2 separate regions of the Homo sapiens genome follow, and region 1 is linked to region 2. Evidence: promoter capture Hi-C in human tissues and cell types (Jung and others, 2019). All regions are on one chromosome and are shown on one strand. Each heading gives the region's core, a stretch centred on a gene start or on the middle of the fragment in contact. The rest is flanking DNA. Distances are from core to core; before and after follow the strand shown. Region 1 overlaps LUC7L (LUC7 like). Region 2 holds the start of RAB40C (RAB40C, member RAS oncogene family).

Region 1 (4,218 bases), core at 1,601-4,100, 390 kb before region 2:
CCCATCTCTACTAAAAACACAAAAATGAGCCAGGCATGGTGGTGCACGCCTATAGTACCAGCTACTTGGAGGGCTGAGGCAGGAGTATCTCTTGAAGCTGGGAGGTGGAGGTTACAGTGAGCTGAGTTCGTTACACTGCACTCCAGCCTGGGTGACAGAGCAAGACCCTGCCTCAAACAAACAAACAAACAAACAAAAAAAACCCAACAACTACAGTAGGACAAAATTCTGAGCTGTGAAATGAAAATGTAATTTAAAGGAGAAATGGGAAAGTAACATTTCCAGTGGCTAACAAACAATTTTTTTTTCTTTAAGACAAAGTCTCACTCTGTTGCCCAGGCTAGAGTGCAGTGGCTCGATTTCGGCTCACTGCAACCTCTGCCTCCCGGGTTCAAGCGATTCTCCTGCCTCAGCCTGCCAAGTAGCTGAGAATACAAATGTGTACCACCATGCCCAGCTAATTTTTGTGTTTTCAGTAGAGACAGGGTTTTGCTATGTTGGCCAGGCTGGTCTCGAACTCCTGACTTAAGTGATCCGCCCTCCTCAGCCTCCCAAAGTGCTGGGATTACAGGTGTGAGCCACCATGCCTGGCCAAAAGCAAATTTTTAATAGAGTGGTAAATGCATACTAAATTGTGATTTATAATTCTATTGGATACAGATACTTTTACATCTTTTTTTTTTTTTTTTTTTGAGACAGAGTCTCGCTCTGTCGCCCAGGCTGGAGTGCAGTGGTGCAATTTCGGCTCAGTGCAAGCTCCGCCTCCCGGGTTGACACCATTCTCCTGCCTCGGCCTCCCGAGTAGCTGGGACTACAGGTGCCCACCACCATGCTCGGCTAATTTTTGTATTTTTAGTAGAGACGGGGTTTCACCTTGTTAGCCAGGATGGTCTCAATCTCCTGACCCAGTGATCTGCCCGCCTCGGCCTCCCAAAATGCTGGGATTACAGGAGGCTGAGCCTCTGCACCCAGCCTTTTTTTTTTTTTTTTTTTTTTTTGAGACGGAGTCTTGCTCTGTCTCGTAGGCTGGAGTGCAGTGGCACAATTTCAGCTCACTGCTACCTCTGCCTCCCAGGTCAAGCAATTATCCTGCCTCAGCCTCCCGAGTAGCCAGGATTACAGGCGCCCGCTGCCATGCCTGGCTAATTTTTGTATTTTTAGTAAAGACGGGGTTTCACTATGTTGGCCAGGCTGGTCTTCAACTCCTGACCTCGTGATCCACCTGCCTCGGCCTCCCGAAGTTTGGGATTACAGGCGTGAGCCACCACACCCAGCCTCACTTTTACATCTTTCATACCTATAAACTTATAAAGAAAAATTCCAACTTTGACAGAGTACATTGCTTTTCAAAATTCTCTCGGGAACACGGAAGTAAAATGTTTCAAGACCAGTGGCCGAGAATAACCTCACTGCTGCACCAGCTCCCATCACAGTCCCAGGTTCACACCATCACCTATGGGACCCTCCTGAGGTGCACAGCCCTGCCATATGCGGCCTGAGTGAGCAGCTCTTTCCTGGGGCACAAAAGGCCCTCAGCCGTGGTCACTGCAGCATTCTGCAGTCAGCGACACGTCTGTCCCTCCACTACATTTCAGGTATACAGGGGGAGGCTGGCTAATTTCCCACCATCCTATCCTGAGGTCCTAGTATGCGGTAAGGGGGGCTCCATCAGTGTGAAGGGAGACAATTCAAAGTAGTGGAAATACGTCCAACCTTCCTTCTTAGCATTCCGTACTTAAAGTTTTTAAATGTCGGCCGGGTGCGGTGGCTCACGCCTGTGGTCCCAGCACTTTGGGAGGCTGAGGCGGGCGGATCGCGAGGTCAGGAGATCGAGACCATCCTGGCAAACACGATGAAGCCCCGTCTCTACTAAAAATACAACAACAACAACAAAAATTAGCCGGGCGTGGTGGCAGGCACCTGTAGTCCCAGCTACTGTGGAGGCTGAGGCAGGAAAATGGTGTGAACCTGGGAGGCGGAGCTTGCAGTAAGCCGAGATTGGGCCACTGCACTCCAGCCTGGGCGACAGAGCGAGACTCCATCTCAAAAAAAAAAAAAAAAAAAAAAAAAAAAGTTTTTAAATGTCTTAGAGTCTTGAAGAAGGAACAGAGGTTTTCTCTGGGCTGGGATGGTACAATGCTACCAGAAAAACCCCATCTTCACCCCGCCCTTCTGAGGTGGCTCATAGGCAAGGAGCCAGGATGTGTGACACTCTGTCTTGACCAACCAGAGATTCTTTCTCATCTCCTAACAGAAGTTATTTCAGAGATACACAACGAGCTGTATGTATTCTGGGAACAGGCTCTGCCATTTTCTTCCCTTAACGACAGGGTCCAAAATAAATCTCCAAGGCTCCTTTGGACTCTGAGCTATCATGTCTCTTGTGTGAATCCAAGTGATGAAATCTGCGTATTTCACTATAAAACTCAAGTTCTTAGAGATCAGAACATAATGTTTTTTGTTTTTTTTTTGAGATGGAGTCTTACTCTATAGCCCAGGCTGGAATGCAATGGCATGATCTCGGCTCACTGCAACCTCTGCCTCCTGGGTTTAAGCAATTCTTCTGCCCCAGCCTCCCGAGTACCTAAGATTACAGGCTCACACCAACACACCTGGCTAATTTTTCGGTAGAGACGGGGTTTCACCATGTTGGTCAGGCTGGTCTCGAACTCCTGACCTCAGGTGATTCGCCCACCTCGGCCTCCCAAAGTGCTGGGATTATAGGCATCAGCCACCACGCCCGGCCAAAACATAAGGTTTTTAAAAATTAAAGAAATGTGAAAACACCCCAAGACTCCTCAGCTTTCTCCAGAAACAGATGAACATACCCTCAACTGATCAAGCTTCTCTCGGATCTGAATGAACCCCAAGTGTAACTTGCCACCGAAGTGGTCTGCCAGGCGACGGTCATTGTCATGGAGACCAAGGTAGGCTGAACAGACCTCGCAGACACGCAGCTTTTGCTGCTGAAAACTGGATGCAGGCATGGAATTTCTGTATTCTTCCTGAAGAAGGAAAATGGAGAAATAAAAGTGAGGTATATAGAACTGCCACCACAAATTCAATCTCCAAAATGAAAATATTTGATAAGATGACAGAGGTGACTTTTAAACAAATATTAAAAAAACACAAACAAAACTTCAGATATTTATAACCAACTCAATTTTCACTGTTTATTTAAGAAACGCGGCCAGGCACGGTCCCAGCACTTTGTGAGGCCAGGTGGGCGGACCATGTGGTCAAGAGATCAAGACCAGGCCAGGCGCGGTGGCTCACGCCTGTAATCCCAGCACTTTGGGAGGCTGAGGCTGGCGGATCACCTGAGGTCCGGAGTTCAAGATCAGCCTGACCAACATGGAGAAACCCCATCTCTATTAAAAATACAAAAGTAGCCGGGTGTGGTGGCGCATGCCTGTAATCCCAGCTATTCTGGAGGCTGAGGCAGGAGAATGGCTTGAACTCGGGAGGCGGAGGTTGCTGTTGAGCTGAGATCGCACAGGCAACAAGAGCAAAACCCTGTCTCAAAAAAAAAAAAAAAAAAAAAAAGAGAGATCGAGACCATCCTGGCCAACTTTGTGAAACCCCGTCTCTACTAAAAATACAAAAATCAGCTGGGTGTGGTGGCACATGCCTGTAGTCCCAGCTACTCAGGAGGCTGAGGCAGGAGAATCACTTGAACCTGGGAAGCGGAGGTTGCAGTGAGCCAAAACCGTGCCACTGCATTCCAGCCTGGCAACAGAGCGAGACTCCATCTTAAAAAAAAAAGGTACTAACAGGCTGGGCTCAGTGGCTCACGCCTGTAATCCCAGCATTCCGAGGCCAAGGCAGACAGATCACTTGAGGCCAGGAGTTCAAGACGAGCCTGGCAACATAGCAAAACCCTGTCTCTACTAAAAATACAAAAATTGGCCGGGCGCGGTGGCTCACGCCTGTAATCCCAGCACTTTGGGAGGCTGAGGCAGGCGAATCATGGGGTCAGGAGATCACGACCATCCTGGCTAACACGGTGAAACCCCGTCTCTACTAAAAAAACAGAAAAAATTAGCTGGGCGTGGTGGCGGGCGCCTGTAGTCCCAGCTACTCAGGAGGCTGAGGCAGGAGAATGGCGTGAACCCGGCAGGCGGAGCTTGTAGTGAGCCAAGATCATGCCACTGGGCGAAAGAGCGAGACTCCGTCTCAAAAGAAAAAAAAAAAAAAAAAGCCAGATGGTGGCAGGCA
Region 2 (4,022 bases), core at 1,386-3,885:
CAGAGTCCGTCCCTCCCTTCACTGGGCCTGCTGCCCTAGACCCATCTGGGTTCCCTGGGACACTTTTCTGCTCGGAGGCTGGGAGGTCAGAGGGCACAGCAGCTTTCCAAGGATCTCACCCTATGGAAAGGTTCCTGAACCCAGGAACCCAGGACAGGGCTGTGTCCACAGGCTGTGGTGGGCAGCTCCAGTGGGAGAAACCTGACTTCTTCATCAGCCAGGGGATGACCCTTTCTTGTCCCAGGAGGTGGGAACTAGGCAGCAGTGGCCCACGGCTGGGTCTGGAGAGCGTTTTACTTTGTTTTTCTTTTTTAAAAAAGTTTATTTTTGTGAAGACCATAAGAACATTTTTAATTGTTTATTTTTGAGGCACTTTTTTTTTTTTTTTTTTCCTGAGACAAGAGTCTCACTCTGTAGCCCAGGCTGGAGTGCAGTGGCACAATCTCAGCTCACTGCAACCTCCGTTTCCCGAGTTTAAGCAATTCTTCTGCCTCAGCCTCCTAAGTAGCTGGGATTACAGGCACGTACCAACATGCCTGGCTCATTTTTGTATTTTCAGTGGAGAGGGGGTTATCACGATGTTGGCCAAGCTGGTCCTGACCTCAGGTGATCCACCCACCTCAGCCTCCCAAAGTGCTGGGATTACAGGCATGACCCACCGTGCCCGGCCTCAGAAAGCGTTTCTGATTTATGTTCTCAGGAAAGGAGGAGACGGCTGCTCACCACTATCCACCCCCCGCTTCCAGGCAGTCTCAGAAACCGAGGAGGAAACATCACATCTTTGGTGCTTCCCGTCCCTGGAGTGAGGGGCCTCAGGGACTTCACAGCCAGGGCTCAAGTCTGGGCACAATGACCTCTGAGCAGAAGAGGCTCTCCCTGACCCGCCAGGTTGTTTCCGGGTTAATGCCTGGGGAACTTGGCAAGGCGCCATCTCTACAAAAAATACAAAAGGTAGCCGGGCATGGTGGCGCCTGTAGTCCCAGCTACTCGGGAGGCTGAGGCTGGAGGATCGCTTGTGCCGGGGAGGTAGAGGCTGCAGTGAGCCGAGATCGCGCTACTGCACTGCAGCCTGGGCGACAAAGGGAGACCCTGTTTCAAAAAAGAAAAAACTGGTGCGTCGATGTGGTCGCCGCTTAGTCAGGCCATGTCTTCAGCTCTGGGGGACGGGAGGTCACTGGAGGTGTGGGGCTGCCCGTCCTGGCGTCCCTCTGTGTAAGCAGCACCTGCTCCCGGAGGCACAGCCCTGGTCGGGGCCCCTCTGGAGGAGGGTTCTTGCCGGGCTCTGCTCCTCGCCGGCGGGGCAGACGTGACGGGCTCCGCACCCGGTCTGGAGAGGGCTGCGCTGGGTCGGCGCTGACGTTACTGCTTTTACTTACGACTGTAACAGCGCTACTGAACGCAGAGCACGTATCACAAAGCTCACCCGTTCCGAGTGAGTAACTTCACCGAGAGAGGCAGGACCATCCCCACGACGGTAGGACCTTCTCGTCACCCCAGAAAGAACCACGTGCCCACTCAACCCCCGACCCCACGCCGGGGCCCGCGGACGCAGCCGCCTCGCTCGCCCACGCACCTGCGGCAGCCGGGCCCGGCAGGGACGAGGGCTCGGCGGCGCCCCCGGGAAGAGCGCGGTCCGGGCCCTGGGTCCCCGTCCAGGAGGCGCCGCTGCCGCAGTGAGCACGTCGGGCCGGGTCTTGAGCTCGCGCCGGCCGCGCTCCCCGCGTCCCGAGCTGTGGCGGCCGCGTCCCCGGGCGGAAGGCTCACGCTCGGTGACGCCGCGCTGTCCCAGAACCTCAGCGACTTTGCAGACTCACTGGTGACCCAACGGTGCGCCCCGCCGCCGCCGGGCGGAAGTCCCGCCCCTGCCCCGGAGAGGAAGTTCCGCCTCATCGAGCGCCGATTGGCCGCACCGCCTTAGAGAGGACGCGCCCGGGGCCACCCCGCCGCTCCCTCCGAGGGTTCTGCGGAAGCAGGCGGCACAGCCTGCGAGGGGCTTTCGTTTCCCGGACTCAGCCGCATCGCCTCGGCTCGGGCGCGCCTGCATCCTGCCGCCCGTCCGCGCGTTGAAGGGGCGGATACAAACAACGTGGACTTCCGAGCCCCTGATTGGCGAGCGTGTAGGAAAGGGGCGGGGTTAGCAGAGCCGTGATGGACATGCAAGCGACCCAATGGCGCCGGCGACGGGGCGGGCGAGGACAACGGCGTTGTGGGCCGGGGGCGGGGCGGCCGGCGGCTCTGGGATTTCTCTGGGAGGCAGCCGCAGGGAAGGGAATGATCTTGGTGAACTTATAATCGAACCAATGGTTCCGGGAAAGCAGGAGGCGAGTGGCCAATGGCGACGGCGATGAGGCAGGCGTCCGCTGTCTCCGCAACGCCGTGTGGGAAAGGCGGGGGAGGGGCGGTCATGACAGACGTGCAGACAGGCCAATGGCTGAGGGAAGGAGGGCGGCGGGCGACCTCTGGTGACTACGGGAAGGCAGGGCGGGGTGGTGAAGAGGCGGTGCGACCGGAGGTCTGGCGGCGCCGTGTGGAACGCCGTGAGGGCGGGGAAGTCGTGACGGACGGGCGGGTGGGCCAATGGGCTCGGGAGGGCGGGCGAAGGGTGGCCAATGGCGGCGGCGCGGCCGGGGGTGGGGCGGCGCGGCGGCCCTGGTGGTGCGGGAAGCGGCGGGGCGGCGGCGAGGCTGAGGTGCGCCCGGGCGCGGGCGGGGCGGGGCCGGCGCTGGGCTTCGGGCGCGCCCACTCGGCCGCCGTGGGGCGGACGCAACGGGCGCAGGTGCGGGGCGCGGGCTCTCTCACGCCGCGGCCTCACCCGGCGGTGCTTCGGCAGGCGGCCGGCGCGGGGCGCAGGCGGCGCGGCCATGGGCTCGCAGGGCAGTCCGGTGAAGAGCTACGACTACCTGCTCAAGTTCCTGCTGGTGGGCGACAGCGACGTGGGCAAGGGCGAGATCCTGGAGAGCCTGCAGGACGGCGCGGCAGAGTCCCCGTACGCCTACAGTAACGGTAAGGCCCGGCCCGCGGCGCGCGCTGCTACGCGGGGCCCGAGCCCGGCGAGCTGGGCACGGAGCTCGCCCTCGGCCCGGCCCTTCCAAGCGCCGCCGAACGTTCCCAGGAACGCCTTTGCCTGGCTTCCAGACTCGGTAGCTCGGTGGCTGCGGGGTGCCCGTGCTCCAGTCCCGAGGTGACGCCGGGGGGCAGGAGGACGGACCAGAGGGACGCGCCCAGCGGGGACGGTGCCATGGACCCGGGGTCTGGGGGACGGTGTCACGGGTCCGGGATCTCAGGGGAAGGTGTCATGGGTCCGGGATCTGGAGCCCAGGGGAAGGTGTCATGGGTCCTAGAGAAGGTGTCATGGGCCTGGGGAAGGTGTCATGGGTCTAGGATCATCTGGGGTCCGAGGGAAGGTGTCATGGGCTCGGGGGAAGGTGTCGTGGGCCGGAGGGAAGGTGTCATGGGTGCAGGATCTGGGGTCTGGGAGAAGGTGTCATAGGTCCGAGGGAAGGTGTCATGGGTCCAGGATCTGGGGTCCGGGGAAAGATGTCATGGTCCCGGTAGAAGGCGTCATGGGCCAAAAGGAAGGTGTCATGGGTCTAGGATCATCTGGGGTCCGAGGAAAGGTGTCATAGATCTGGGGGAAGGCATCATGGTCCTAAGGGAAGCTGTCATGGGTCTGGGATCATCTGGGGTCCGAGGGAAGGTGTCATAGATCTGGGGAAAGGTGTCATGGGTCTGGGATCTCAGGGGAAGGTGTCATGGGCCTAAGGGAAGGTGTCATGGTCTGGGATCTCAGGGGAAGGTGTCATGGGTCTAGGATCATCTGGGGTCTGAGGGAAGGTGTCATAGATCTGGGGGAAGGCATCATGGTCCTAAGGGAAGGTGTCATGGGTCTGGGATCATCTGGGGTCCGAGGGAAGGTGTTATAGATCTGGGGAAAGGTGTCATGGGCCCGGGGAAGGTGTCACGGACCCAGGTCTGGTGGCAGGTGCTGCTGGGCTGCTCTTGGGACCCTGTCTCGAGCGTGC

The links. Contacts are between HindIII fragments. The study calls those that stand out against the background at their distance.
Region 1: a contact is called between a fragment that was not itself captured here and the fragment with the promoter of RAB40C in region 2, in 1 of the 25 tissues and cell types used here (lymphoblastoid cells).

What each region holds. Positions count from the first base shown.
Region 1 is chr16:196,234-200,451 of GRCh38, forward strand. LUC7L (LUC7 like) reads right to left here. Exons shown (of 10, transcript NM_201412.3): 6 at 2,829-3,005. Among named protein-coding and RNA genes, the nearest start is that of HBQ1, 18 kb to the left of the region's middle. The HindIII fragment of the contact is 3,095 bases long and covers 1,304-4,218 here.
Region 2 is chr16:587,431-591,452 of GRCh38, forward strand. RAB40C (RAB40C, member RAS oncogene family) reads left to right here and starts at 2,636. Exons shown (of 6, transcript NM_021168.5): 1 at 2,636-3,003. The coding sequence starts at 2,862. RefSeq lists enhancers at 957-1,156, 1,279-2,152 and silencers at 1,497-1,806, 2,127-2,186, 2,197-2,246, 2,317-2,436, 2,527-2,846. The HindIII fragment of the contact is 16,228 bases long and covers 1-4,022 here.